Linked DNA regions of Homo sapiens: all the other regions are linked to region 4. Evidence: promoter capture Hi-C in human tissues and cell types (Jung and others, 2019). All regions are on one chromosome and are shown on one strand. The core of a region is centred on a gene start or on the middle of the fragment in contact, and the rest is flanking DNA. Distances in the headings are between cores, read along the strand shown. Region 1 overlaps DNAJC18 (DnaJ heat shock protein family (Hsp40) member C18). Region 2 overlaps SIL1 (SIL1 nucleotide exchange factor). Region 3 has its middle 28 kb from the start of SIL1. Region 4 holds the start of ETF1 (eukaryotic translation termination factor 1). Region 5 overlaps MATR3 (matrin 3). Region 6 overlaps SIL1 (SIL1 nucleotide exchange factor). Region 7 overlaps PAIP2 (poly(A) binding protein interacting protein 2).

Evidence for each region. The method cuts DNA at HindIII sites, captures the fragments that hold promoters and counts their contacts. A contact is called where the count stands out against the background at its distance.
Region 1: a contact is called between a fragment that was not itself captured here and the fragment with the promoter of ETF1 in region 4, in 1 of the 25 tissues and cell types used here (hippocampus).
Region 2: a fragment that was not itself captured here is called in contact with the fragment with the promoter of ETF1 in region 4 in 3 of the 25 tissues and cell types used here (IMR-90 fibroblasts, bladder and stomach).
Region 3: a fragment that was not itself captured here is called in contact with the fragment with the promoter of ETF1 in region 4 in 1 of the 25 tissues and cell types used here (mesenchymal stem cells).
Region 5: a contact is called between a fragment that was not itself captured here and the fragment with the promoter of ETF1 in region 4, in 4 of the 25 tissues and cell types used here (IMR-90 fibroblasts, mesenchymal stem cells, mesendoderm cells and 1 more).
Region 6: a fragment that was not itself captured here is called in contact with the fragment with the promoter of ETF1 in region 4 in 1 of the 25 tissues and cell types used here (mesenchymal stem cells).
Region 7: a fragment that was not itself captured here is called in contact with the fragment with the promoter of ETF1 in region 4 in 2 of the 25 tissues and cell types used here (IMR-90 fibroblasts and dorsolateral prefrontal cortex).

The regions. Positions count from the first base shown.
Region 1 is chr5:139,410,772-139,414,899 of GRCh38, forward strand. DNAJC18 (DnaJ heat shock protein family (Hsp40) member C18) reads right to left here. Exons shown (of 8, transcript NM_152686.4): 8 at 1-3,501. The coding sequence ends at 3,377. Among named protein-coding and RNA genes, the nearest start is that of SPATA24, 8.7 kb to the left of the region's middle. The HindIII fragment of the contact is 3,753 bases long and covers 1-3,296 here.
Region 2 is chr5:139,193,064-139,197,297 of GRCh38, forward strand. The region is part of intron 1 of SIL1 (SIL1 nucleotide exchange factor); the gene reads right to left. Among named protein-coding and RNA genes, the nearest start is that of SIL1, 3.2 kb to the right of the region's middle. The HindIII fragment of the contact is 8,977 bases long and covers 1-4,234 here.
Region 3 is chr5:139,224,857-139,228,811 of GRCh38, forward strand. No RefSeq gene overlaps it. Among named protein-coding and RNA genes, the nearest start is that of SIL1, 28 kb to the left of the region's middle. The HindIII fragment of the contact is 6,415 bases long and covers 1-3,955 here.
Region 4 is chr5:138,540,581-138,544,687 of GRCh38, forward strand. It overlaps ETF1 (eukaryotic translation termination factor 1), which reads right to left and starts at 2,656. Exons shown (of 11, transcript NM_004730.4): 1 at 2,517-2,656; 2 at 2,253-2,356. The coding sequence starts at 2,338. RefSeq lists enhancers at 2,167-3,366, 2,308-3,097, 2,817-3,216, 3,098-3,887 and a silencer at 2,477-2,526. The HindIII fragment of the contact is 28,551 bases long and covers 1-4,107 here.
Region 5 is chr5:139,318,230-139,322,415 of GRCh38, forward strand. MATR3 (matrin 3) reads left to right here. Exons shown (of 15, transcript NM_018834.6): 8 at 679-804; 9 at 1,105-1,272; 10 at 3,669-3,800. Among named protein-coding and RNA genes, the nearest start is that of PAIP2, 22 kb to the right of the region's middle. RefSeq lists an enhancer at 3,849-4,186. The HindIII fragment of the contact is 4,627 bases long and covers 1-3,617 here.
Region 6 is chr5:139,172,113-139,175,880 of GRCh38, forward strand. All of the region lies in intron 1 of SIL1 (SIL1 nucleotide exchange factor), which reads right to left. Among named protein-coding and RNA genes, the nearest start is that of SIL1, 24 kb to the right of the region's middle. The HindIII fragment of the contact is 4,426 bases long and covers 1-3,768 here.
Region 7 is chr5:139,367,996-139,372,116 of GRCh38, forward strand. It overlaps PAIP2 (poly(A) binding protein interacting protein 2), which reads left to right. Exons shown (of 4, transcript NM_016480.5): 4 at 738-1,722. The coding sequence ends at 803. It overlaps SLC23A1 (solute carrier family 23 member 1), which reads right to left. Exons shown (of 15, transcript NM_005847.5): 14 at 3,992-4,121. The coding sequence ends at 4,011. Among named protein-coding and RNA genes, the nearest start is that of SLC23A1, 13 kb to the right of the region's middle. The HindIII fragment of the contact is 8,101 bases long and covers 1-4,121 here.

The DNA.
Region 1 (4,128 bases), core at 170-2,669, 870 kb after region 4:
TCTTTTTTTTTTTTTGAGACAGAGTCTTGCTCTGTCACCCAGGCTGGAGTGCAATGATGTGATCTCAGCTTACTGCAACCTCTGCCTCCCAGGCTCAAGAGATTCTTCTGCCTCAGCCTCCTGAGGAGCTGGGATTACAGACACGTGCTACCATGCCCGCCTAATTTTTGTATTTTTAGTACAGACAGGGTTTCACCATGTTGGCCAGGCTGGTCTGGAACTCCTGACCTCAAATGATCTGCCTGCCTCAGCCTTTCAAAGTGCTGGGATTACAGGCATGAGCTACTGGGCCTGGCCAGTTCACTGTATTTTCGAACAATTTCCAACAGAAAGCACAGCAGTGACGTTTCCTTACTGGTCACTGCTCCCGTGCTGTGAGGCCTGGAGCTGATCAAGGAAGCTTACACATTTCCCGGCCTGAGCAGATGAACTCTAGGGTTGCTAATCTGGGGACGTGGGTTCCTTCAAGCTCTTTGTGATGAGAAGGATTTTCATCCTCCTTTTCTCACTGCCGATCGTGCGGTAGAGAGAGCATCTTCATTTGAATGAGAGCTTCAGTTTCTGCTTGAGCCTCAAGCCCTATTTCTGAGCGCTGCTCCTCTCACACACGTCTCCAATCTGCAGTAATGCTCAAAGAAACAGTCTAGAGCTGGGTGCCAAGCTCCGGCAGCAAGAATAAGCCCTACCTAGTTATGTATGATCAGGAGATCTTCCAAAGGACGTAGGCGAGAGGAAAAAGCTTATTTTACCACCATGCAGACAACCCATCTAAAATATAACCCAGGAAATTATAGCTTCACAATATTCTGGATAGTATCAAATAGATAAATCCTTCAACCAAAAGCAAATACGGTTCCCTTGAGGAAAAACAGATGTGAATGTTGTGGTCTATTGGCAATAAATAAAACAGTACCATCGGTGCTATAAAAACAGACAATCAGCGTGACATTTAATGGAGTTAGTTATTATTGCTTCTATTTAGTATCATCACAGATTACTTATCGCTGCCATGAAGTCCATAAAATGTGTGACTACCTGATTCCTGGGCATCTAGGACAGGGTCTTTTAACCTGTCAAGTCAGTTTCATTATGGCCAATTTTCTAGCAGTGGTTGGGGATGGGGAGAGGAGAGCTTTGATTTTTTTGTGTGTAGAAGAACTTTCCATAAGCCTGTTTGGCTCATGGACATATTTTACAATGTAACCTCCCTCAGTCACTCAGAGGGGATCAAGAAGGGCCCCCTAAAACCAGGAGGACAGATCTAGTTGGGCAGCAAAATCTGGCTATTTCTAGAAATGCTCCCTCTCCCTGCAACTGAGCAGTTGTCCCCTACAAGCCACTAAAGCCCCCAATCTTTACCTGTGAACCCATCTCCTGACTCTGTGGAATGCCTGCAGAGGCATGGTAGGGAACAACCGTTCAGATGTTGATGAGCCATGCTAGGCACGTCTGTGTAAATCATGGCCATGCATTGGGATGAAGAAACTTTACTTTGGAATCTGTTTAATGTAGACTCTTTTTTTTTTTGAGATGGAGTGGAGTGCAGTGGCGTGATTTCAGCTCACTGTAACCTCCACCTTGCAAGTTGCAGCGATTCTCATGCCTCAGCCTCCCGAGTAGCTGGGACTACAGGCATGTGCCACCACACCTGGCTAATTTTTGTATTATTAGTAGAGATGGGGTTTCACTGTGTTGGCCAGGCTGGTCTTGAACTCCTGACCTCAGGTGATCCACCTGCCACAGCCTCCCAAAGTGCTGGGATTACAGGCTTGAGCCAGTGCACCCGGCCGACTCTCTACCAGAAACTTTTCTTCCAATATGAAGGAAGCATGGAGTGTAGGCTACAGTCACTTAATGATCCTTCCAAGTTCAGAGTCATGATAATTCAGGCAGCTCAGCTCCACAGGAAGGCCCAGAACCACACAGCCCAGGCAGTGACTGAATTCTTCCTAGTCACCAGTGGAGGGCTGCCTGCCTGTGAGGGACCTCTTATTTTGTGTACAGAATTTATGTTAGACAGGGTCCTGCTTCCTAAAGAGCAGCAGGGATGTTGTCCTGAACAGATGCAAGATTGCCACAGAAAAGATGAGGGGTCATGGGGTTGGGGAGGACGGAGGCATCCTCGGGAAAGGTTCTGCTTTGCCAGTCTGGCTAGAATCACCTGAGACATGAGGATGCTCTCCCACTTTCTACTTGACACTCAGCCTACCGTCTTGCTCTGCCACTACAAGACCTGGGTCATCCTCTCTGGGCCAATGTTCTCATTCATAGAACCAGGGATAATACATCTACTTCAGAGTTGTGAGGAGGTTTAAGTAAGAAAATATGTGTGAGAGCCCCTGCTTTTATAGTAGGCACTCAATAAATGTTGAATGAATGAAAAATCATCTCAAATCACAAACTATAGGATACTGGGTTAAACAAAGTGGCTGCTGGGGCCAAAGCTAGACCCCCATATCCAAGGAGAGAGGATCTGTCTCCTCTATCTCTAGGCTTGAGCAAACAGCCTGGAGAGCTGGCAATGCCTCCTCCTGGGTCTGACCATCTGCCTCTGTGGGATGTAGGAACTCAGCCTAAGTGCGATGACACCAATGATGATACTGAGGGGAAATGACCGAAGGGACATTCTCTGGGTTCTATGATGGAGTAGGGAGGCTTCGTGGAGGAGATGAGGCTCGGTCTTGCATTATACCTTCGCCCTGGCCCCCGCCTCCAGATGCTGCTCAGTAGTTTTAATTTCTGGACTCTCTAAAGGAGAGAGGGTTAAGGAAATAAAGGAATCTCAAATTAGGCAGTTTGCTAATGCTACTAACTGAGCAGAGATTGGAATAATAGAAAACTATTGACTACAATAGTTTAAATTTCTCCATATTCCCCTAGAAAATGGAAAGCTGGGCAGGAACATGTTCCAAAGGCTAAATCTTGGCGGAGATGATGACTCTAATGAAGGGAGAGGTATAATTCTTGGTAGACAGTGTAAATAACTAATATTAAGCTTTGGCTAAGCCTAGGAATGCCTGGTTCTTAAGACTTCACTGAAGAAGGGAAGAAGGAAGAAAGCATGGATCTGCTCTGGGATGCCCTGAACTCCATTCACATAGGCAGGGTAGGCATGGAGCAGGGAGACGGAATCCAATGCCTTGCCATTAATTTAACTTAGATGAACTACTCCTGGTCCCTGGAGCCACTCCCCAGGAAGGATCCTGTGAAGACACATCTGGCTCTCGTGCCCATGCTCCTGCCACTCTGCCCAACCAACGAAGTTAGCAAATAGTAAAGTGTTCATCATTACCTAGTTTTGTATTATAAAATGGAATCAGGAACATAAATAGGAACAAGTAGCAAAACCCCAGCCCTGCGTAGGACCATTATCCTCTCAGCCACCTCTGCGTAGGCCAATGAGTTTGGAAAGTTTCTCACAGTTTTCAAGTTTCAGCGACTCTGCTTTCTGTTTCAATCGTTCATCTCTGTATAATCCTGCCAAATTTGTCAGCTCTGACTCTGAAAGATAAAAGAGGTAACCAATTCATCAAGAGCTGAACTCCTTTGTTTCATTTCAATGTTTCTGGAGTCAAAGCTCCTTTTACTTCATTTCAAGCTTTTTCTTACAATTAAATATAAGAAACATTTAGTCATTTATTCACAAAACACGTCTTAGGTACTAGACCAGGTGTGGAGGATTAAAGGGCACCTGTGACCCTGCAGTCCAACAGTATCTGTGCTCTCTTATAAAAGCACTGGACTTAGTTCTTACCAAGAAAACATTTGGCACCAGACTTAGGAAACCTGCGCATGTGCAGTGAGACCACCCTATAGCCTCCTACAAACGGGATTCCAACAGCAGCTGGGAGAGAATGGAGTCCAGTGGCCTATTCCTGTCATCTGAAACAGACAGCTGCTTTATTCTTCTCCTGCATTGCTGCATCATAACTCACATGTGCGAAGGCACACAGAGCCTACTGCTGCCGGGTGTGCGTCCACAGAAGGCCAGGGCACTACTGGCGCTGTTCATTCCCTCACCACACGTAGGGTCCCCAACTCAAAGGCCAAAGGCAGCTGGGCCTTTCTAAAAGTTGAATCATCTGGATCCGGTGACCTTTGTCTCCTTGACTAAATTAATTTCATTTT
Region 2 (4,234 bases), core at 444-2,943, 650 kb after region 4:
TCTTCTGGATAAAAAACTGGCCTTGATGACTACATTAAAGAAAGAATATCAGATAAGACCATGCATTCTCAGTGAGTGCAGTAACAGCCCAGAAGGGGTGAAAATTGATTCTTGGGGGAAAAAAAGTTAGATATTACAATGGTTTGTGGCCATCCAAAGGGCCACAATACAAAAACAGATACACAGTACATCTGTGGTATTAAAATTCCATTGGGGGTAGCTGGGCACGATGGCTCATGCCTGTAATCCCAGCACTTTGGGAGACTGAGGTGGGCAGATCACTTAAGGCCAGGAGTTCAAGACCAGCCTGGCCAACATGGCAAAACACAAAAACTACTACTAAATAACACAAAAATTAGTTGGGCATGGTGGTGGGCGCCTATAATCCCAGTTACTCAGGAGGCTGAAGCACAAGAATCACTTGAACCCAGGAGGCAGAGGCCACAGTGAGCAGAGATCACACCACTGCACTCCAGCCTGGGCGACAGAGTGAGACTCCCTCTCAAAAAAACATTCCACTGGGGAGTAGACAATTAAGGGAAAAAAAGTCTCAAAATATGATAATGAACAAAAGGTTGAAAAATAATTAGATGAACCCAAAGGGTTGAGTCTTAGATGAACCCTAAGGGCACAGTGTTCATTAACTTGTATAATGGTCATGGGTAGGGTAACTAACTTGTCCTGGTTTGCCCCGGACTTTCCTGCTTTTGGCACTAAAAGTCCCACATACGGATATCCCTCTGTCCTGGGAAAACTGGCATGGTGGTCCACTCTTCTCAAGAGAGAGATCAATGAAGGCATTCCCATTTCACAAATGAGGTGACACCAAGAAACACAGTGGTTGTCACGGATTCACAGCACTTTAGCAGCATTCCTGAGGCAAGGCTGGCTCTTTCCATTTGTCTAGTCCTATGCTCACAACTCTCTGCCCCTGATTTCCACTTTGGCAGAGAATGTTACTCATGAATTGATTATGCCACTTCCTTCTCAATACCAAAGCCAAGGGCAGTATTAGGAGGATGAAGGCAAACATGGCCAGCCAGCATAATCACAGCCATGTCTTACAGCTGCCTGGTGGAACCTGAAGGAACTACAAGTCTGGGCTGAATATAGTTTTGTTGCTACTGGATTCTGGGTACAAATTTGCAAAAGTAAGAATGCCAGGTGTAAACTCCTCACAAGCTAGGAAAATTCCTAGCTTGAGGTTCTCCACATGTGTCTGAGCAGCCCGAATCTTTTACAAGGTTTTTGTCCCAAAGATGAACTCAGTTATTGCTTATGCTAGGAATCAGGGGTTACCCAAGGCCTCACTCTGAATGGCAACAGGCTATTCTCCTACTCCCCTACTCAGCAGTGAAATCCTTGGTGAAAGTAAAGGAAGAAAAGAAAAGGGCATGCTATTCCGTCTTTAGTCTACGTATAATTAAAATACAAGACTCTCTGCTGTAGAAGACTAAGGTTTGCAGTTTAAGGCCGACTCAGAAAAGGATAAAGTATTCATCCTTGCTCAGAAAGAGAGAAGATTAGCTCCACAGGATGGGTCTCCAAATTGACACCAAATCCAGGAGTTAGAGATGGCTGTGCTACAGAGCGTGATCCAAGCACCATCTGGAGCCCCCAGAAAAAAATCCCTAGGAATAGCGACTAAGGGACTAGCATTGTAAGAGAGTTCAGATTAGCTCTCCTGAAAAGAGGCTTACTACAAGAGACTGGCAGACAGCCTCTGCAGCAAAACTTCACTTAGGAAAGGACAGAAAATGAATGAAGAAAGACAGGGGGAGGCTGAGCAGGTCAGAGTATGAATCCACAAGTATGTGAAAAAGAGAATCCACCTATTTCGAAAAAGGTACAACTTCCTTTCAGAGCCTTTTTTTTTTTTTTTGAGACAGAATCTCTCGCTCTATCACCCAGGCTGGAGTGCAATGGCACAATGATCTCGGCTCATTGCAACCTCCGCCTCCCGAGTTCAAGTGATTCTCCTGCCTCAGCCTCCCGAGTAGCTGGGATTACAGGCATGCGCCACCACGCCCGGCTAATTTTGCATTTTTAGTAGAGACGGGGTTTCTCCATGTTGGTCAGGCTGGTCTTGAACTCCCGACCTCAGGTGATCCACCCACCTCAGCCTCCCAAAGTGCTGGGATTACAGGTGTGAGCCACCGCACCCGGCCAGAGACTCTCATGTTCTTTTGAATATTCTCATTAACGGCAAATCTTCATTCTTTGAGGGTGAAAACATTTATTGCATTCCTATGTCCCAAGAGCTTTCATGTGTAATACGTCATTTAACCACCCTTCAAAGTAAATATTATTCCCAGTTTTTTTTGTTTTGTTTTGTTTTGTTTTGAGACGGAGTCTCGCTCTGTCGCCCAGGCTGGAGTGAATGGCGTGATCTCCGCTCACTGCAAGCTCCGCTTCCCAGGTTCACGCCATTCTCCTGCCTCAGCCTCCTGAGTAGCTGGGACTACAGGCACCCACCACCTCGCCCGGGTAATTTTTTGTATTTTTAGTAGAGACGGGGTTTCACCGTGTTAGCCAGGATGGTCTCGATCTCCTGACCTCGTGATCCGCCCACCTTGGCCTCCCAAAGTGCTGGGATTACAGGCGTGAGCCACCATGCCCGGCCCTATTCCCACTGTTATGTAGTGGTACATTGAGCCCCAGAGGTGAAGTAACTTATCCAAGGTTATGTGGCTAATAAGTGGTAGACTCAGAATTAAAACTCATGTTCACCACCCTCCAAAAATCTGTTATTTCCACTTCAAAAGAACTGTTAACTCATCTGAAGACAAGGCAGGTGACAAGGTTGCTTACCCATGCCATTCGGGGTTAAATATATATAGGCTGTGTGCAGTGGCTCACGCCTGTAATCTCAACATTTTAGGAGGCCAAGACAGAAGAATCGCTTGAGGCCAGGAATTCAAAAACAGCCTGGGCAACACAGCGAGACCCTGTCTCTACAAAAATTAAAATTACAAAATTAGCTGGGCCTGGTGGTGCGCCCCTGTAGTCCCAACTACTCAGGAGGCTTTAGTGAGAGTATTACTTAAGCCCAGGAGTTCAAGGTTGCAGTGAGCTATGATTATGCCACTGCACTCCGGCCTGAACCACAGTGTGAGACCCCATCTGAAAAATAATAATAATAATAATACAGTATGGTTTAATATATTAAAGAAACTGATCTCTCGCATGGTTCAAAAAGGTCTCTGAAAACAATTCCAGAGGTGGATTTTCAAAACTGCCTTGGACAACAGCCAAATCACTTAGGCACGCCATCCTCAACTCCCACCACCTACACCTGCACACATCACTCTAAAGGAGAACATTCATTGGTGGATCAAGTTCCCACATGTCAGTTATTTTAAAATCCATTTTGTTACCTTTCAGTTTCACTTAATTAGCCTCTTCTCCTGCCAATGAAACACACCAGGGCTCACAGTTGGCCTCAGTAGAGAAGTAATAGCTGGCCTTCAGAAAACAGCAGGGAAGGGGAAGTAAGTGGGAATCAAAGTACTAGGCAACTTTTCATTCCTGGACTGCCGCATCCCTACTAACATTTCCATCACCTGTAAAATGGGAGCAGAACGTCTCTTCTATTGCCAATTTCATTAAAACAGCACATGTATTCATGAGCAGATTAAATTCACTAAACAAATGAAAGAAAGGGGAAATAAATGTGGTGTGGTAACACCATCTTAAAAACCCGAGAGCCATGTTCTCAAAACCACAGACCAAGTTCTGACCCATGTTATACAAATATCAATCCCAATATCGTTACACTCTGGCTCCCATCAAAATCCTACCCAATCCCCAAATCTGGCTATACTTTTATCAGAAAAGAAAAAAACTTGGGTGGGGTGAGAGCAGAAAAGACACACACACACAACAAAATATCTTTCACAATGTCAAAAAAAAACCTGTTTATATGCCAGGCGAGGTGGCTCATGCCTGTAATCCCAGCACTTTGGGAGGCCGAGGTAGACAGATCACCTGAGGTCAGGAGTTCGAGACCAGCCTGATCAACATGGAGAAACCCTGTCTCTATTAAAAATAGAAAATTAGCCGGGCACGATGGCGCATGCCTGTAATCCCTGCTAATCGGGAAGGTGAGGCAGGAGAATCGCTTGAACCTGGGAGGCGGAGGTTGCTGTGAGTCGAGATGGCACCATTGCACTCCAGCCTGAGAAACAAGAGCGAAACTCCGCCTCAAAAAAAAAAAAAAAAAAAAAAAACTGTT
Region 3 (3,955 bases), core at 380-2,879, 680 kb after region 4:
GGTGGGGAAAAGATTGAGAAATCGGATGGTTGCCGTGTCTGTGTAGAAAGAAGTAGACATTGGAGACTTTTCATTTTGTTCTGTACTGAGAAAAATTCTTCTGCCTTGGGATCCTGTTGATCTGTGACCTTACCCCCAACCCTGTGCTCTCTGAAACATGTGCTGTGTCCACTCAGGGTTAAATGGATTAAGGGCGGTGCAAGATGTGCTTTGTTAAACAGATGCTTGAAGGCAGCATGCTCGTTAAGAGTCATCACCGGCCGGGCGCGGTGGCTCACGCCTGTAATCCCAGCACTTTGGGAGGCTGAGGCAGGCGGATCACAAGGTCAGGAGATCGAGACCATCCCGGCTAAAACGGTGAAAACCCGTCTCTACTAAAAATACAAAAAATTAGCCGGGCGTAGTGGCCGGCGCCTGTAGTCCCAGCTACTTGGGAGGCTGAGGCAGGAGAATGGCGTGAACCCGGGAGGCGGAGGTTGCAGTGAGCCGAGATCCCGCCACTGCACTCCAGCCTGGGTGACAGAGCGAGACTCCGTCTCAAAAAAAAAAAAAAAGAGTCATCACCACTCCCTGATCAGGGACACAAACACTGTGGAGGGCCCCAGGGTCCTCTGCCTAGGAAAACCAGAGACCTTTGTTCACTTGTTTATCTGCTGACCTTCCCTCCACTATTGTCCTATGACCCTGCCAAATCCCCCTCTGCGAGAAACACCCAAGAATGATCAATAAAAAAAAAAATAAATAAATAAATAAAAATACATTTGGCACTGGGTGTGGGGGCTCACGCCTGTAATCCCAGCACTTTGGGAGGCAGAGGTGGGCAGATCACCTGAGGTCAGGAGTTCAAGACCAGCCTGGCCAACATGGTGAAACCCTGTCTCTACTAAAAATACAAAAACTAGCTGATCATGGTGATGTGCGCCTGTAATCCCAGCTACCTGGGAGGCTGAGACACGAGAATCGCTTGAACCCGGGAGGCAGAGGTTGCAGTGAGCCAATATTTGAGACTCTTTCTCAAAAAAAAAACACAAAGGAAGTAAAGTACACTTGAGAGATCACATGCATGGGTTTTATATGTTGCCATACTTGTAGGGTCTTGAGTTATTTCTCCTCTGATTCTTCCCTTGGGGCCTTGGGGTGGGCTGTCCGCGTGAGCAGTGGACTGCTAGCACTTGGGAAGGGAGCATATGCAGTGTGCTTACTGGAGTCATAGCATGCTCACTTGAGGCGTTCTTCCCTTACCAGTCTAGCATCTCTAGAGCAAGGTCATATACCAGTTAAACTCCACCATTTTGCCTCTTAAACTGCATTCTTGGGCCCCCTCGCTCAACTCCTGAGATCTTACCAGAAAGCCGCTGATAGCAGTTTCAAGTGTTTTCTATATATTAGGAGACTGCCTTTCCCTGGCACTGGCTGTCACCAACTATTTGTTTAGAGAGACAGTTAACAACTGCCTAACCATCACCTGATGGTCACCTGGCATTCCTGTTGTATGAGAGCAGCCCTCTCCTGCCCTGCTTATGCCTGACTAAGCTACCTATTGTAACAAATTGACCACTTTCTCTAATCAAAATAGAATTCAAGGCCAGGCACAGTGGCTCATGCCTGTAATCCCAGCTCTTTGGGAAGCTGGGGTGGGGGAATCATGAGCCCAGGAGTTTGAGACCAGCCAGGGCAACATAGTGAGACCTCATCTCTACAAAAAATAAAAAATCCTTCATCAGCTTAGGGAGATAAGATAAATAAATAAAAATAAAAATTAATTAATTAAAAATAAAAAAATTTAGCTGGGTATGGTGGCACATGCCTGTGATCCCAGCTACTCAGGAGGCTGAGGTGGGAGGATTGCTTGAGCCCAGGAGGTCAAGACTGCAGTGAGCTGTGATCACGCCACTGCACTCTATTCTGGGTGACAGAATGACACACCATTTCAAAAAAAGCAAAAAGAAACACAACAAAATAGAACTCAATGACAGAAAGATAACAACAGCCCCATGCATTTGGAAACATTTCTAGAATTATGGGATAAAAAATAAATCAAAATGCAGATATTTCTAAATAAAAAATAGCCATAGAAGACAAACTTGTATTTAAAGGGAAATGTATGGCTTTAAATGCTCATATGAGAAAAGCAAGCTGGGTGCGGTGGCTCACTGCTGTAATCCCAGCACTTTGGGAGGCTGAGGCAGGCGGATCACCTGAGGTCAGGAGTTCGAAACCAGCTTGGCTAGCCTGAGGAAACCCTGTCTCTACTAAAAATACAAAAATTAGCCGGGTGTGGTAGCATGCACCTGTAATCCCAGCTACTTGGGAGGCTGAGGCAGGAGAATTGCTAGAAGCAGAAGTTGCAGTGAGCTGAGATTGCGCCATTGTACTCCAACTGGGTGACAGAGTGAAACTCCATCTCATAAATAAATAAATAAATAAATAAATAAATAAATAAATATACAGAAATTAGCTGGGCATGGTGGCGGGCACCTGTAATCCCAGCTACTCAGGAGGCTAAGGCAGGAGAATAGCTTGAACCCGGGAGGCAAAGGTTGCAGTGAGCCAAGATTGCACCATTGCACTCTAGCCTGAGCGACAAGAGCAGAAAAAAACATAGAAATACTATAGAGAATCAACAAAATTTTTTTGACAAGCTCAGTCAAGAAAAAGGCATAGATAAACAATATCAAAACATTTAAAAGGGCTGGGCGCGGTGGCTCATGCCTGTAATCCCAGCATTTTGGAAGGCTGAATGAAGCAGGCAGACTACCTGAGGTTGGGAGTTCCAGACCAGCCTGACCAACATGGCGAAACCTCGTCTCTACTAAAAATACAAAAATTAGCCAGGCATGGTGACTGGCCCCTGTAATTCCAGCTACTTGGGAGGCTGAGACATGAGAATAGCTTGAACCCGGGAGGCGGAGGTTGCAGCGAGCTGAGATCACGCCACTGCACTCCAGCCTGGACAACAGAGCAAGGCTCCATCTCCAAAAAAAAAAAAAAAAAAAAAAAAACATTTAAAAGAAGATATAGCTGTATAGCAGAAAATTTAAAGTCATAAGAGAACACTGTAAAAAAATATTTTAAAGCAATAAGTTTGAAAATTTTGGTGAAACGGGTAATTTTCCTTAAAATGGAAAAAAAATCCTGTAATGGAGATGTTATTATTTCTTTTCCACAGATAAGAAAACTGAGAAGCAGAGAAATAACTTGGTCAGATTCCCATAGCTAGTAAGAGACAGAGTCTAGATTTGAAGGCCCAAGCAGTGGACTTCTGATTCATCTTCCCTCTTTCCCTCCCACAAACATTTACACTGAGTACCTACTAGACACCAGTCATTGTGCTAGGGATTACAGGGATAAAAGACAAAATTCTTGCCCTCTGGAAGCTCCCAGCCTAGGAGACAAGACTGGGCCAAGACTAGGATAAGTAAAGCACCCAGGGCACAAGATTTAAAGATGTGTTCATTCTCACTTGCAAAACAACTTAAATTTTGTGCCCTTGCCCTGGCTCTCCTAATAAGCATAACCACAACTGCAAAAATACATGCTTTCAACAACTTGAAGCCAGTAAGACTTCTGAGCTCCAGATGTGAGGAAAGGGCATTCTAGGCAGGGAGACTAGTACGAGCAAAGGACAGAGCAGAGAAGCAGCATGATCCCTGATGGGAACTACAAGCAGTTTGGTATTTCTGAGGCACACAAATCAATGCAAGGTGGAGAATGGCAAGAAGAGAGGGTGGAGGAGTGGCCAAGGTCCAGGTCATCACAGGCACTTTATATCATGCTAAGGAGCTTAGACTTTACCCTAAGGGTTTAAGCAAGGGAGTGACACAGGCATAACAGTATTTTACAATAATTCTTCTGGCAGGAATGTAGATGGTGGTGGGGATGGAAACATGGCAGAAAGTGGACAGATGAGTTACATGGCTGCAGAAGCATCCAGGCAAGAGAGGAAGAGAGCCTG
Region 4 (4,107 bases), core at 1,406-3,905:
GATGGCCAAGATTTTAAATTTCCATGGGATCAAGATGCAACCAAATCCTGATTAAAAGCAAAGTAGGACATGATTATTAACCACAATGTGTAGCGGAAGGTCCTCCAGCTATTTTAGACAGCTTAATCATGTCTGAAATATCCAAACTCAACAACTTGAAATACAAGTTGTGTCTTATAACTTCATTTTTAGCATGCTTTAAACTTTACTGAACTTTGCTAAACAAAGAGGTAAAGCCTTCAAAAGCCTTAAAGAGGCGCTTAAAAGTTTCTAGTGGCTAGGTAACATGGGTAGAACAAATTTAAGAATGAGTTTCCTTCATTAAGCAGTAGAAAGGAATGCTGTTACTTATTAAGCAATGTCATCTTCAATGTTACTTCATTCAAACAGGCAAATTATAGTCATGATTTAATTTTTTGGACTGTTTCAGAGAATATAACGTATGCAAATTAAAATGTGTAAACCTGCCTGCTACTGAAAGCAGTAAGAACAAATCCAGAGGTCACATCCACCTATATACAATACTGCAACAACAGCAATCTATAAAATGCAATACTGGATTGAAGGCTTCAAGTAACAAAACAAGATCCTACTGAAACAAAAGAACCTGGCTAATTCTTGGTAGTGCAACATAATGGGTCGTGACCTATGTTACCCTTTCTGTACAGTATTCTCACATTTTGGGAATAACTGGTCACTCTATCATACGGCACAAGTTCCTGTAAGATCATTAAGAAGGTCTGGATATTCTATTGAATTCAAAGAAAAACCTAAGGACTAACAAGCCGCTGTCTTCGATTCATATTAAACTAACGTTTCTCCAGTAAACCGAAGGAGTGAGCACAAGCCCGTCACTGAATGGGGCCAAACTTTTAGAAGCCTCATTCCAAACAGAACTGTCCCTAATTTATTAAGAACAAAACACTAGTAAAACCAACCTGTGAATTGGGCCTTCAGTACAATTAAGCACATCCTGTTTCATATAACAGTAATAATGAAGAGCTTGGAGGGGCTGTCATTCTAAAATTGCAAATCTACCCATAAATGACAATCCTGGGCTGGAAACCAGAATGTCAAATTCTTGTGCTGAAATCAACTTTTCACATGGCCTGAGGCAGGCCATTCTACTATTCTAAGAATGCTCAGACATACAAGTATGTAATAATGTTCCAAACACTTTTTTTTGGGGGGGGGGGCACTTCCTGTAAGTAAAAAGTTTCTATGACTGGGAAAGGAACAAAATAAAGTAATAAAAGAAACAGGAATACCCCTGGCACACCTTCCTCAAACGAACAACGTTAAAAAAAAAAGAAAACACACACACACAGCTAATTTTAATCTAGCCTACTCTCCCCCCAATGGACACACCTACAGTTTCTTATCAAAATGTACAAGACTCAAAGCCCATTTAATTCAATTATGAATCTCACTCAACAAGCATCAAGCACATCAGGCGCCTCTCTACAGCGATATCCCCACAAGTTTCAGAGAAATGCCAGCAGGGACTCTGTAGTTATGATTCCTATCAAACGGCCCCCTAACCCGTATTTCTCCTGGACATACACATGCAGATTCATTAACCAAAACCTACCCAGCACCCCTCACATCGCGCGTACGTTGGCATTTTCAGTTTATAGGTGGGTCCTGGAACAGCTAAAACCAGGAAGCTCCGGGGTAATTAGAGGACTTGGGAGAAGTCATCTTGGGACAGGTGGAAGACCCAGAGAAATCAGGAATCAGAAAGAAGCTGTCCCTGGCCACCTCTGCTTCCCGTCCCATCCAAACTTCACCCACCCGGGTCTCAGAAGCCCAGAAGGGAGAGGCCATTTTAATGAGGCCTGGCTGAGAAATGAAGGGAGAAGAGGAAATCAGGGAAGGGCCCTGGGAAAGGAAGGCCGAACACTTTGCCACAATAGCACCCGAGTCGGGTGGCAGCACCTGGAGCCCGAAGAGGGAGGACCTGGACTTAAGGGCCCGGGAGAGGTGCAAAAGTAGCGGTGGCCTACCACGAGGGGGGCCGAGTGATCTAAACCGGGGAGCGCGGGCCCCTTACCCCCATGCGGGGAAAGGACCCCTTCTCGGGCCAACCGCGCCGACCCTCGCCCCTGGGTCAGGGGCTACTACCCAGAGATCCAGAAGGCGGGAGTTGGCTAGTGCCTGGTTCTCCTCATCCGGCCATGCGGCGCGGGGGCGTCCATCCTGAGGGGTCCGGGAACCAAGAGGGCACGGAGGGTGCCGGACGCGGCGCTCACCCGCGGGCCGCCTCCAAGCTCTTAATGAGCTTCTTGATCTTCCAGATCTCCACGTTCCTGTCGGCAGCACTGGGGTCGTCCGCCATCTTCTCGCCTCCTCCTCCCTAGAGCGGCCCGGCGGGGCCCGGAGACACCAAGACCACAGAGTTAGCGCCGCCGCTGGGGCAGAGCGGCCCCCTTCCTCGCCATCCCCCAGAGGCCCTCTCCTCCCGTCCGGTGCAGCTCGCCACAAAGGTCACCGGCCTTTCCCTCCCTGTGCCTTACCTAAGGGCCCAGTCCTGGGCGGCAGCGGCTGCTCCTCCCCGGCGGCGGCTCCGCGGCGGCGGCGGCTCTGACGTAGGACACCGGCTCCCTCTCTCCAGGCAGCTGCATGTGTTGCAATCCGCTCACATGGGGCCTGTGACATCACTTCCTCCGCCAGGGGCGGAGTGGAAGGCGGCAGGCGGAAGGGAGGGGGCCGGTGCGAGTGAGGAGAAGCTGGGCGTCCGCCGCGACTTCTCATTGGCTCTCTGCCCCGCAGCCTACAATGAGCCCGCCGATTGGCTGCAGCTGGGTCCGCGCCGCCTTGTGAGGTAAGGCTGGGGGGTGGGAGGTGCCACCTTTCTTCCGGCCCGGCAAGGCGAGAGGAGGAAGCGGGCGGAAGCCGGTGGCTCTCGCGAGTTTACTGAGAGCCCCCGTCAGGCTCGAATGGGGGTGGTTCTTAAAGAGAGAGGACCGGGGTCGTCGTCTTTTCAGTCCATTCTCCTTGAATAGGGTGGACATCTGAGGCTTTGCGACTCGAAGCTAGGCACTTGGGCCCGACGCGCGGTTTGAACGGTGCTTGAGAAGCCGCGAAGAAGCGCCTCGCGCTCAGCGGCTTCTTCGCTGACGAAGTGCTGCGGTCTGCGTGCGTCATGGCTGCACGGAATAGTGTGGAGGAGTCCTGGCCAGTAGGTCTGGATGAGGAACCTGCCTCCGGGCGGTCCGGGACCCTCACCTGCAGGGGCGAAAGAGGCCTGTTTTCTCTCGCCCCAGAGCTAGGACGGGCTCACTTTGGACTTAGAACTTTATGGGGTGGAAGACAGCGGGGGCTGCCTGAGCTTGGAGACCTGAGGTATCTGGTCCCATGTATGATTTGGCCTGAGCCGTTGAGAATGGGGGTGGAGAGAGTTGAAACAAAATGGGCATCCACATACGGTTAGAACTTTATCTTTTTGAGTTAGGATTTTTAGGTGGCTACTTTGTCCCCCCTCACCTCGTCTGGGTTCAAATATTGAGCCCAGACCGTGTGCTGGACCCTGTTTTCCTGGGGATACAGAGGTGAACCAAACAGATGACAGTACTTACCCTTATGGAGCTTATAGTCGATTGGGTTTTTAAGTTTGTGATTTTATACTTTTTGTAATAAAATAATTACACAAATGCTTAAGTACTTCAGGGTGCTCTGAGAGTGTATGGCGGGGACCCAGCTCTGAAATGAGACCCAAAGGATGATTAAGAGTTTGTCAGGAGGAAACAGAATACAGTTGAGAACTACAGAAACGCCAGTGTGCTGGCACAAGGTCAGGGACGGGGAGAGTGGTTTGAGGGAGCAGCAGGGGAAGAGGTCATGTAGGGTCTTTTAAGCCAGATTCAGAAGTTTGGTTTCTTTCAAGAACAGTGGGTAGTTTAAAGGGTTTAGAGCCCTGGTGTGGACTGGAGAGAGTACAGGAGAAGCCCAGAGACCATTTTGGCTGCTTCATTATCATGTGAGAGATGATTTTCGCTTACATTAGGGTGGTGACAGTGCAGATAGAAGTGAATGAAGGGCCTGGTGCAGTGGCCCACGGCTGTAATCCCAGCACTTTGGGAGGCCAAAGGGGAGGATCGCTTGAGC
Region 5 (4,186 bases), core at 54-2,553, 780 kb after region 4:
TTCAAGCGATTCTCCTACCTCAGCCTCCCAAGTAGCTGGGATTACAGCCGCCCACTATCATGCTCAGCTGATTTTTGTATTTTTAGTAGAGATGGGGTTTCACCATGTTGGCCAGGCTGGTCTCGAAGTCCTGACCTCAGGTGATCCACCCGCCTTGGCCTCCCAAAGTGCTGGGATTACAGGCGTCGGCCATTACACCCGGCCAACATTTTTGTTCGTTTGTTTTTGTTTTGTTTTGTGTTTGAGTGTCACTCTGTCACCTGGGCTGGAGTGCAGTGAGGTTCACTGCAGCCTCCACCTCCCAGGTTCAAGCCATTCTCCTGCCTCAGCCTCCTCCCAAGTAGCTGGGACTACAGACGTCCACCATTACGCCCAGCTAATTTTTGTATTTTTAGTAGAGACGGGGTTTCACCATGTTGGTCGGCCAGGATGGTCTTGATCTTTCAACCTCGTGATCCGCCTGCCTCGGCCTCCCGAAGTGTTGGGATTACAGGCATGAGATACTGGGCCCAGCCTCTTTTGTTTTGTATTTTGATTCTTGAAAGTATTTTCTACTTAATGATTAAATATATCTGAAAAGATTTGGGGCATTGTTATTTTTTAGGAAAAAAAATCTTTAGTTCAATGTGAGAAAGCTGATTGGAAAAAACAGAGAAATAACTTTTTGTATAATTTCAGGCATTTATTGAAATGGCAACCACAGAGGATGCTCAGGCCGCAGTGGATTATTACACAACCACACCAGCGTTAGTATTTGGCAAGCCAGTGAGAGTTCATTTATCCCAGAAGTATAAAAGAATAAAGGTAATGTTTATTTTTTTCAAGCTGTATATCAGTTTAACAAATGATTTTAATAGTTATTAACTGTGGTTATTTCAAATTATTGCTAAGGCCAGGTGTGGTGGCTCACGCCTGTAATCCCAGCACCTTGGGAGGCCAAGGTCAGAAGGATTATGTGAGGCCCAGGAGTTCCAGGCAAGCCTGGGCAACATAGCAAGACCTCGTCTCTATAAAAATAAAACAATTGGTAAAGACTAGGATGTTTTTAACTGTTAACTAATAATTATTGCACATTTGTCCTTTTGTTGTTGTTATTTATTAAAGAAACCTGAAGGAAAGCCAGATCAGAAGTTTGATCAAAAGCAAGAGCTTGGACGTGTGATACATCTCAGCAATTTGCCGCATTCTGGCTATTCTGATAGTGCTGTTCTCAAGCTTGCTGAGCCTTATGGGAAAATAAAGAATTACATATTGATGAGGATGAAAAGTCAGGTAATATACATAAGGAAGTTTTAGAGAAGATAATTTATTAAAATCCTTAAGATTTTTCAATATGGAGCTGGGCGTCATTCCTCAACCTGTAATCCCAGCAGTTTGGGAGGCCAAGGCAGGCAAATCACCTGAGGTCAGGAGTTCGAGACCAGCCTGGCCAGCATGGTGAAATCGTATCTCTATTAAAAATACAAAAATTATCCAGGCGTGATGTGCCTGTAATCCCAGCTACTTGGGAGGCTGAGGCAGGAGAATTGCTTAACTGGCAGGGGGCGGAGGTTGCAGTGAGCTGAGATTGCACCACTGCACTCCAGCCTGGGCAGCAGAGCGAGACTCCCAACTCAAAAAAAAAAATTTGCTTTTTTTTTTTTTTTTTTTTTTTTTTTTAAAGTATATCCCTATTTTTAGTGATGAAATCTGGAGGACTAGTTGTTTGCTTTTCTTTTCTTTTTTTTTTTTTTGAGACAGGGTCTCAAAAATTAATATTTCATACTTTTTTTTCTTGTATTTAAAAAATATAGAGTTAGCCAGTCGCAGTGGCTCACGCCTGTAATCCCAGCACTTTGGGAGGCGGAGGCAGGCAGATCACGAGGTCAGGAGATTGAGATCATCCTGGCTAACACAGTGAAACCCCCTCTCTCCTAAAAATACAAAAAAATTAGCTGGGCGTGGTGGCGTGCGCCTGTTGTCCCAGCTGTTGGGGAGGCTGAGGCAGGAGAATGGCATGAACCCGGGAGGCGGAGCTTGCAATGACTCGAGATTGTGCCACTGCACCCATCCTGGGTGACAGAGCAAGACTCCATCTCAAAAAAAAAAATTTAGAGTTAGGCTGGATGCATTGGCTCATGCCTGTAAATCCCTAGACATTGGGAGGCTGAGGCCAGAGTTGCCCAGGAGTTTGAGACCGCCCTGACAACATATTGAGGCCACATCTGTACAAAAAAAAATTTTTTTTAACCAGGCAAAGTGGCATGCTCGTACAGTTTTAGCTACGGGAGTCTGAAGTCAGGTGGAACACTTAACCCAGGAGTCCAAGGTTTGTAGTGGGCTATGATTGTGCCACTGTACTTCAGCATAGGCAGTGGAGTGAGACCCTGTCTCAAAAAGGAAATAAGGATGAGGAGAACATCTTTTTTGTTTTTCTTTTTTTGTTTTAAACACTTCTGTAATTCAGCATTGCAAGTTTGTGTTCTTCCAGACTTTTATTTTTCTTACACTATTTTAATATCTTAAGCTTATTACTTTTTTTTTTTTTTTTTTTTTTGAGACAGAGTCTCGCTCTGTCACCCCGGCTGTAGTGCAGTGGTGCAATCTCAGCTTACTGCAAGTTCTGCCTCCCCGGTTCATGGCATTCTCCTGCCTCAGCTTCCCCAGTAGCTGGGACCACAGGCACCCGCCACCACGCCTGGCTAATTTTTTTTTTTTTTTTTTTGTATTTTTACTAGAGACGGGTTTCACCATCCACAGGATGGTCTCGATCCCCTGACCTTGTGATCCGCCCGTCTCGGCCTCCCAAAGTGCTGGGATTACAGGCTGAGCCACCGCGCCCAGCCAGCTTATTACTTTTTTGCAGAGTGTATATAGATGGCTTAGTATTTGGCACTAAAGTGATTCTTGGGGATTTTGTAAATCTGACAGGTTGGTTTTTTGGTTTTTGGTTTTTTCTGAGATGGAGTCTTGCTCTGTCGCCCAGTCTAGAGTGCAGTGGTGCCATCTTGGCTTGCTATAAACTCCGCCTCCTGGGTTCAAGCAGTTCTCCTATGTCAGCCTTCCAAGTAGCTGGTACTACAGTAGGCACACTCCACCAGGCCCAGCTGATTTTTGCATTTGTAGTAGAGATGGGGTTTCACCATACTGGTCAGGCTGTTCTCGGAATTCCTGACCTCAGGTGAGCCACCCGCCTTGGCCTCCCAAAGTGTTGGGATTACAGGTGTGAGCCACTGCGCCCAGCCCTGATATTCAGTGAATTTTTAACTCTGTGCTAAAGATTAAAATTTTTAGCCGGGTGTGGTTGCTGTCACCTGTAATCCCAGCACTTTGTGAGGCCAAAGCAGGAGGATTGCCTGAGTCCAGGAGCCCGAGACCAGTCTAGGCAACATGGCGAAACTGCACCTCTACAAAAAATACAAAAATTAGCCAGGCATTGGTGGTGCATGCCTGTAGACCTAGCTACTGGGGGGCTAAGGTGGGAGGATCAGTTGGGCCCAGTACATCAACGCTTCAGCAAGCCAGGATTGCGCCACTGCATTCCAGCCTGGGTGACACAGTGAGACCCTGTCTCAAAAAAGAAAAAAAGTAATGAAAATTTTCTAACCAGTAGGTAGAATACATAATAAGGTTTTATACAATTTTGTAAAATATAATGTGCTTTGTGGTTTCTTTTCTTTCTTTTTAAGGCTTTTATTGAGATGGAGACAAGAGAAGATGCAATGGCAATGGTTGACCATTGTTTGAAAAAAGCCCTTTGGTTTCAGGGGAGATGTGTGAAGGTTGACCTGTCTGAGAAATATAAAAAACTGGTTCTGAGGGTATGTAGTATTTGATTTGTCATCATTTAACAGCTTGTTTTTACATATTTAAAGCCACAACATTCTTTTAAACATTTTTGTATGCTAAAAATACAGGATTATTGAAACCTATTGAAATAAGTTATTGAAAGAGAACAACCTTTTTTTCTGGTCTTTAATGGCAGAAGTTTTTAAACGAGTCTTCCCTAAAGGACACCTTCATTGCTCTTATCTGTTTAAGTTTTTCATAGCGTTCTGCTACCAGAATGTTTTATTTTCCACTTCTCTGTTGGTATGGTCATGATGAATGTCTGTAGGCAGCTTAGGTTCTCAAATAAGGTTACGGGAATTGAATAAGCTGAGTTGATTATAGGGATTGTCTCCAATTATTAATTCACTGGATAATT
Region 6 (3,768 bases), core at 612-3,111, 630 kb after region 4:
GGGGACACAATCAAGCAGACCAACATACACATTGTGAAAGTCCCAGAAAGAAAAGATAAGTAGCAGAGAGAACATTTGAAAATATAATGGTACAAAATTTCCCAAATTTGATGAAAGACACGAACATAAACATCTGAAAAGCTCAACAAACTCCAAACAGGATGAATACAAAGAGACTCACACCAAGACACATTATAATCAAACTGTTGAAAGACAAAGGGCCAGGTATGGTGGCTTAGAGCCAGGCATGATGGCTGATGCCTGGAATCCCAGCACTTTGGGAGGCTGAGGCAGGCAAATCATGAGGTCAGGAGTTCGAGACCAGCCTAGCCAACATGGCAAAACCCTGTCTCTACTAAAAATACAAAAAATTAGCTGGGCATGGTGGCAGGTGCCTGTAATCCCAGTTACTTGGGAGGCTGAGGCAGGAGAACTGCTTGAACCCGGGAGGTGGAGGTTGCAGTGAGGCAAGATCACGCCACTGCACTCCGGCCGGGGAATAGCGTGAGACTCCGTCTCAAAAAAAAAAAAAAAAGACAGACAAAGACAAAATCTTGAAGGGGAGAAAAGCAACTCATTACACACAAGGATCCTCAATAAGATAAGGAGATCTCTCATCAGAAACTTTGGAGGGACCCACTCCCAAGATGGCAGCCGCAATGGCTGCCAGCTGTTGCGGCCACAGTGAAGACAGGCAGCAAAACACCAGCTGGTCCCAGATTCACTGCTAAGTGCTGAGGGGAGTTTTTCTCTATCCTCTGTGACATTTCCAATTTTAGATAATGCCTCACATCTCTGCCCCCACTCCAGAACCCGCTGATGCCCCCATGATCCCAAAGAAGACAGCCTACCCTAGAATTCACCCCCAGGATGTTGCAACACCACATTTTGTTTTTACATAATTTAAGAGACTAATGCATTAAAAAAATAGATATAGGTTATGTTTTTAGACACACAACGTGTAAGATGCAATATCATGACATCAACAACTGAAAGGGGTGAGAAATGGAGCTGTTGAAGAAGCCGAGTTTTCTATGCTATTGAAGTTAAGCTATTATAAATTCAAATTACAGTGTTATAACTTCAGGATGTTAAATGTAATGCCCATGGCAACCACACAGAAAATAGCTAAAGAATATACACCAAAAAAAATGAGGGCCGGGTGTAGTGGCTCAAGCCTGTAATACCAGCACTTTGGAGACCAAGGCAGGCAGATCACTTGAGGTCAGGAGTTTGAGACCAGCCTGGCCAACATGGTGAAACCCCATCTCTACTAAAAATACAAAAATTAGTTGGGGGTGATGACAGGAGCCTATAATCCCAGCTACTCAGGAGGCTGAGGCAAGAGAATTGCTTGAACCCAGGAGGCAGAGATTTCAGTGAGCCAAGATCATGCTACTGCACTCCAGCCTGGGAAACAGAGTGAGACGCTGTCTTAAAAATAAACAAAAATAAATAAATAAATACCTAAAACTTACACGGGACACAGCAAAAGCAATACTAAAGGAGAAATTTATAACTATAATGTGTACATTAAAAAACAGGAAAGATCAGCCAGGCACGGTGGCTCATGCCTGTAATCCCAGCACCTTGGGAGGCCAAGGCAGGCAGATCACGAGGTCAGGAGATCGAGACCATCCTGGCTAACATGGTGAAACCCCGTCTCTACTAAAAATACAAAAAAAAAAAAAAAAAAATTAGCCGGGCGTGGTGGCAGGTGCCTGTAGTCCCAGCTACTCAGGAGGCTGAGGCAGGAGAATGACGTGAACCCAGGAGGCGGAGCTTGCAGTGAGCTGAGATTGCACCACTGTACTCCAGCCTGGGTGACAGAGTGAGACTCTGTCTCAAAAAATAAAAGAAAAAAAAAAAAACAGGAAAGATCACAGACAACAACCTAACTTTACAATTTAAGGAACTGAAAAAAGAAATGCAAACTAAACCCAAAGCTAGCAGAAGAAAGAAAATAATAATAAAGATCAGAGCTAAGATCAATGAGATAGAGAATAGAAAAATAATAGAAAAAAATCAACAAACCTAAAAGGTGGTTATGCAAAAAAGATCACCAAAATTGACAAACCTTTACCTAGATGGACTTTTTTAAAACAGGCCAGGCACAGTGGTTCACACCTATAATCCTAGCACTTTGGGAGGCCAAGATAGGATTGCTTAAGCACAAGAGTTCAAGACCCGTCTGGGCAATATGTCAAGATCCCATCTCTACAAAAAATTTTAAAATTAGCCAGGCATGGTGGCAGGTGCCTGTGGTCCCAACTACTTGGGAGGCTGAGGCAGAAGGATCACTTGAGCCCAGGAGGTCATGACTACGCCACCAAACTCCAGCCTGGGCAACAGGGTGAGACCCTGTCTCAAAAAGGAAAAAGAGAGAGAGGACTCAAATTACTAAAATCAGAAATCAAAGTTGGGCCAGGTATGGTGGCACATGCCTGTGGTACCAGGTACTCAGGAGGATCCTTTGAGCCCAGGAGTTTGAGACCAGCCTGGGCAGTACAGCAAGACCCCATTTCAAAAAAAAACAAAAAAGACTGCAGGGTGAAGTGGCTCAGCCTGTAATCCCAGCACTTTGGGAGGCCAAGGCAGGCAGATCACCTGAGGTCAGGAGTTCAAGACCAGCCTGGCCAACATGCCAAAACCCTGTCTCTACTAAAAATACAAAAATTAGCCGGGCATCATGTTATGTGCCTGTAATCCCAGCTACTCAGGAGGCTGAGCCAGGAGAATCACTTGAACATGGGAAGCAGAGGTTGCAGTGAAGCGACATCATGTCACTGCACTCCAGCCTGGATGACAGAGTAAGACTGTGTCTCAAAAAAAAAAAAAAAAAAAAAAAGAATAAAAGAAAAAAATAATGAAAGTGGAGATATTACCACTGATTCTACAGAAATGAAAAGGATTATAAGAGTGTACTAGGCCAGGCGCAGTGGCTCACACCTGTAATCCCAGAACTTTGGGAGGCCAAGGCAGGTGGATCACCTGAGGTCAGGAGTTGGAGACCAGCCTGGCCAAGATGGCAAAACCCCGTCTCTACTAAAAAATACAAAAATTAGCTGGCATGGTGGCACGCGCCTGTAGTCCCAGTTACTCAGAAGGCTGAGGCAGGAGAATTGCTTGAAGCCGGGAGGCGGAGGTTGCAGTGAGCAAGATCGCACCACTGCACTCCAGCCTGGGCAACAAGAGCGAAGCTCCATCTCAAAACAAACAAACAAAAAAAAAGAGTGTACTATGAGCAGGTGTACACCAACAAGCTTGATAACCTAGATATGGACAAATTCATAGAACCAAAATCTACCAAGACTGAATCACAAACAAATAGAAATTCTGAACAGACAGACCTGTAACTAGCAAGCCAACTGAACCAGTAATCAAAAATCTCCCAACAAAGCAAAGCCCTAGACCTGATGGCTTCACCAAACATTTAAAGAACTAACATCAATCCTTCTCAAACTTTTCCAAAACATTGAAGAGGAAGGAATATTCCCTACTTTATTCTCTGAGGCCAGCGTTACTCTGATACCAAAGCCAGACAAACACTACAAGAAAACTACAGACTGGCCAGGCGCGGTGGCTCACGCCTGTAATCCCAGCACTTCGGGAGGCCGAGGCAGGCAGATCACCTGAGGTCAGGACTTCAAGACCAGCCTGGGCAACATGGTGAAAACCCGTCTCTACTAAAAATACAAAAATCAACTGAGCGTGGTGGCGCATGCCTGTGATCCCAGCTACTCAGGAGGCTGAGGCATGAGAATCATT
Region 7 (4,121 bases), core at 1,380-3,879, 830 kb after region 4:
CAACACCATCCTGGCTAACATGGTGAAACCCCTTCTCTACTAAAAATACGAAAAATTAGGCCGGGCGCGGTGGCTTACGCCTGTAATCCCAGCACTTTGGGAGGCCAAGGCGGGCGGATCACGAGGTCAGGAGATCGAGACCATCCTGGCTAACATGGTGAAACCCCGTCTTTACTAAAAATACAACAAAAAATTAGCTGGGCGTGGCGGTGGGCGCCTGTAGTCCCAGCTACTCAGGAGGATGAGAGACAGGAGAATGGTGTGAACCCGGGAGGCGGAGCTTGCAGTGAGCTGAGATCGCGCCACTGCACTGCAGCCTGGGTGACAGAGTGAGACTCCGTCTCATAAAAAAAAAACTAAATAAATAAATAAAAATACAAAAAATTAGTTGGGTGTGGTGGCACGCGCCTGTAGTCCCAGCTACTCAGGAGGCTGAGGCAGGAGAATCGCTTGAACCCAGGTGGCAGAGGTTGCAGTAAGCCTAGATTGTGCCACTGCACTCCAGCCTGGGCGACAGAGCAAGACTCCGTCACAAAAAAAGAAAAGAAAAAGTTGATGTAATTTAATATGATATATAGCTTACATCTGGTTCTTCCTTTTTGGGGTTTAGTATAGTCTTACAGACTGAGTTCTTTTGTCTTTTTTTTTTTGGAAGATGTTTTTGCATGAGGATCTAGATTGAATTAGTACCTGAAACTGTGTTAATGAACTTGCTTTTTTATGTACTTATTTTCCAGGTCAAGAGCAATCTGAATCCAAATGCAAAGGAGTTTGTTCCTGGGGTGAAGTACGGAAATATTTGAGTAGACGGGGCCCTCTTTTGGTGGATGTAGCACAATTTCCACACTGTGAAGGCAGTATTAGAAGACTTAATTGTAAAAGCTCTCTTGTCACTGTGTTACACTTATGCATTGCCAAAGTTTTTGTTAGTCTTGCATGCTTAATAAAAGTGCTGAGACTGTTACTAAGTAAAAAGCTGTCAAACATTTACTGAAAATAGAATTGGCCCCATGGCTTGATGTGAAGACAGCAAGGAAAGAAGCACCAGTCAAGTTGTGAACAAGCACCAAATTAAAAGACCTAAACCTTACCAAATTGTCTTTTTTTGAGGCTAATCTATCACTTGTTAATGTCTAAACTTTAAAATCAGTACATTTAATTTGAGTTCCAACTGTTAAGCATATTTCTCAGACTTAAATTTGATTATGTCCCCATCAAAAAGAATCTCCATTTTCTGAAGGTCTGTTAGTTAATTTGAGATAATTTGTTAAAGGCAAGTATGTCATATTACTGAGGCTACAAGTTAGTCAGCAGATGAGTGCCAGTCCAGCCTTTTCTGGTATGTTATTGTTAGAAATATTGAGTTCTAATGTTACATCTGAGGAAGTATGTAATTTGAGAATTGTAACTTCTAAGGGATTCACTGCATCATAGCTATGCCTGTATGGAGTCTAACATATGACCAATACCAACCCATAATCCAGCTGAACAAAGATACTGTAACATGATTTGAGTGGTGCTTTTCCTTGCTTTGTTAACCATCACGAGAGTCTGCAGCACAACTTTTAACAAAGCTAGAACAGTTTTGGCTTCTTAAACTTCATATTTGGGTAGGTTAAGCTGCCATACGTGTTCAGTGTGAATAGTGTTTAAGTTGAAAATATTGTAAAAAAATTATATTTTTTCAAAAATATTTAAAAAAATAAATAATAGTAGAACTGAGCAGATGGTTGTGTTTATTGGTGCTGGAATGTACTGTAGTGGTGTTACTCACTTGAGTATGGGCCCAGTGCCTCAGGACAATCTTGCTGGCAAAATGTGCTAAGCTTTCAGGCTTTGTTAGATTCTAACAGGTATGTTGCCATGCAAGTACCTTTCCAGAATATAGCAGTAGAATAACTCCATTGCCCATCCTTGCTTCTTAATCACCTCAGACTTCAGTGTCAGGGGAATCCTAGATAGTCATGTAAGAAACTTTATGGCTGACCAATATGATGGTGACCTTACTCTAATAGAACCTCCATTGTTTTTTGTTCTTCACAAGGGCTTTTTTTGAGCTTATTAGGTTGAAAAAGATTAAGAGAGCCATATAGTCAGTTCTGACTCACATTCTTCTGGCAGTGGGTATGGGGGAGGTTCTTTGGTGTGGGCACCTGTACCCCAGTGTGTGGTTGGTTGGTTGGTTGGTTTTTGGAGACGGAGTCCTGCTCTGTTGCCCAGGCTGAAGTACAGTGGCACGATCTCAGCTCACTGCAACCTTCACCTCCCAGGTTCAAGTGATTCTCCTGCCTCAGCCTCCCAAATAGCTAGGATTACAGTTGTGTGCCACCACACCTGGCTAATTTTTGTATTTTTAGTAGAGACCGAGTTTCACCATGTTAGCCGGGCTGGTCTTGAACTCCTGACTTCAGGTTATCCACCTGCCTCGGCCTCCCAAAGTGCTGAGATTACAGGCGTGAGCCACCGCACCCAGCCTTTATTTATTTATTTATTTATTTATTTATTTATTTATTTTCAAGACAGAGTCTCACTCTGTCACCAAGGCTGGAGTGCAGTCATGCAATCTCAGTTCAATGCAACCTCTGCCTCCTGGGCTCAAGTGATTCTCCTGTCTCAGCCTCAAGTAGCTGGGATTACAGGCGCCTACCACCACGCCTGGCTAATTTTTGTATTTTTTTAGTAGAGATGCGGTTTTGCCATGTTGGCCAGGCTGGACTCGAACTCCTGACCTCAGGTGATCGCCCTTAAGAGTAAAGATTCTTGAATGTGGCTTTTGTTGGGAAAAAAATTTAAAAAAAGAAAAGGGGGCTCTAGGCTGGGTGCGGTGGCTCACGCCTGTAATCCCAGTACTTTGGGAGGTCAAGGTAGGTGGATCATTTGAGGTTAGGAGTTTGAGACCAGCCTGGCCAACATGGTGAAACTCCATCTCTACAAAAATAAGCTGGGCATGGTGGTAGACGCCTGTAATCCCAGCTACTCAGAAGGCTGAGACAGGAGAATTGCTTGAACCCGGGAGGTGGAGGTTGCAGTGAGCCGAGATGGCGCCACTGCACTCCAGCCTGGGCGACAGAGCAAGACTCTGTCTCAAAAAAAAAGGAAAAGGGAACTCTAGCCAGACTTCCTGGATGTGAATCCTGTGATCATGGGCATATCACTTAACCTTTCTGTACCTTCCTTTCCACATCTCTAAAATAGCAGTAATAACTGTCTCTGGATTATGTGAGTAGTTAATATATATAAGTACTTAAGACATAGAAAGTCCTGTTTTAAGTGTTGTTATTTTTACTATTAAGGAGTCATCTAGGCTAACCTCTCTTTTTGGGAACTTTTCTTGTCTGTCTGAGGGAACGTGCACATTGAACCCACTTCAGTGTTTAGTAGAGAGCCAGGCATCTGCATTACAGATAGTGATGGAAGGTTTCCGAGCATCAGCTGCCCATGCGTTCTGAAGACCTAAGGACAAAGTGTCACCTCATCAGGGCTTGTACAGGCATCGTTTTAGGATAAAGGCATCCTGTTTTAAAGGGTTTTAATTTTATGACGTTATTGAGACAAGGCAGTGTATATGAGAGGATTTTTCCTGTTCTTGTGCTGCATTTCTCAACATTTTCCATGTCGCATATCAAAGTGATACTTGTTTAGCATACTGGAGTACAAGAATGAGGCTGCCAGTGGCTAGAGTTCTTAGCTCAAGGACTCCAATTGGCCCAGATTCTGCCCAGGTGTCTGGAAGGCTAGAGGATCTGCATTTCAGCATACTTGTAGCCTCTTAGTGGCCCACACTAGTTGGGAAGTTCTGCTGTTACTATGAAATGGTAAAGGAATTCCACCCAAAATCCGTATGTTGACTTTTTACCCAGCTCACCTTCTCTTTGAGGACATTCAAACAGTTTACAAGAAAGAGAACTGAGTAGTTTGGTTTTTCTTTGGTTAAAGCATAAGAATGTTTTGATTATTCAACCCTCCCACAAAAACCATAGACACATCCTACCTTTCCTGGAAGTCATTTTTCAGACCTTGGTGCACACAGATGCAGTTTCTGTATTTTCTGGAGTGTCTTCTGGAATTGCAATCTGATCTTTTGAACTTGAAGAAAATCCTTTGAAGACTGGGCAGATAGG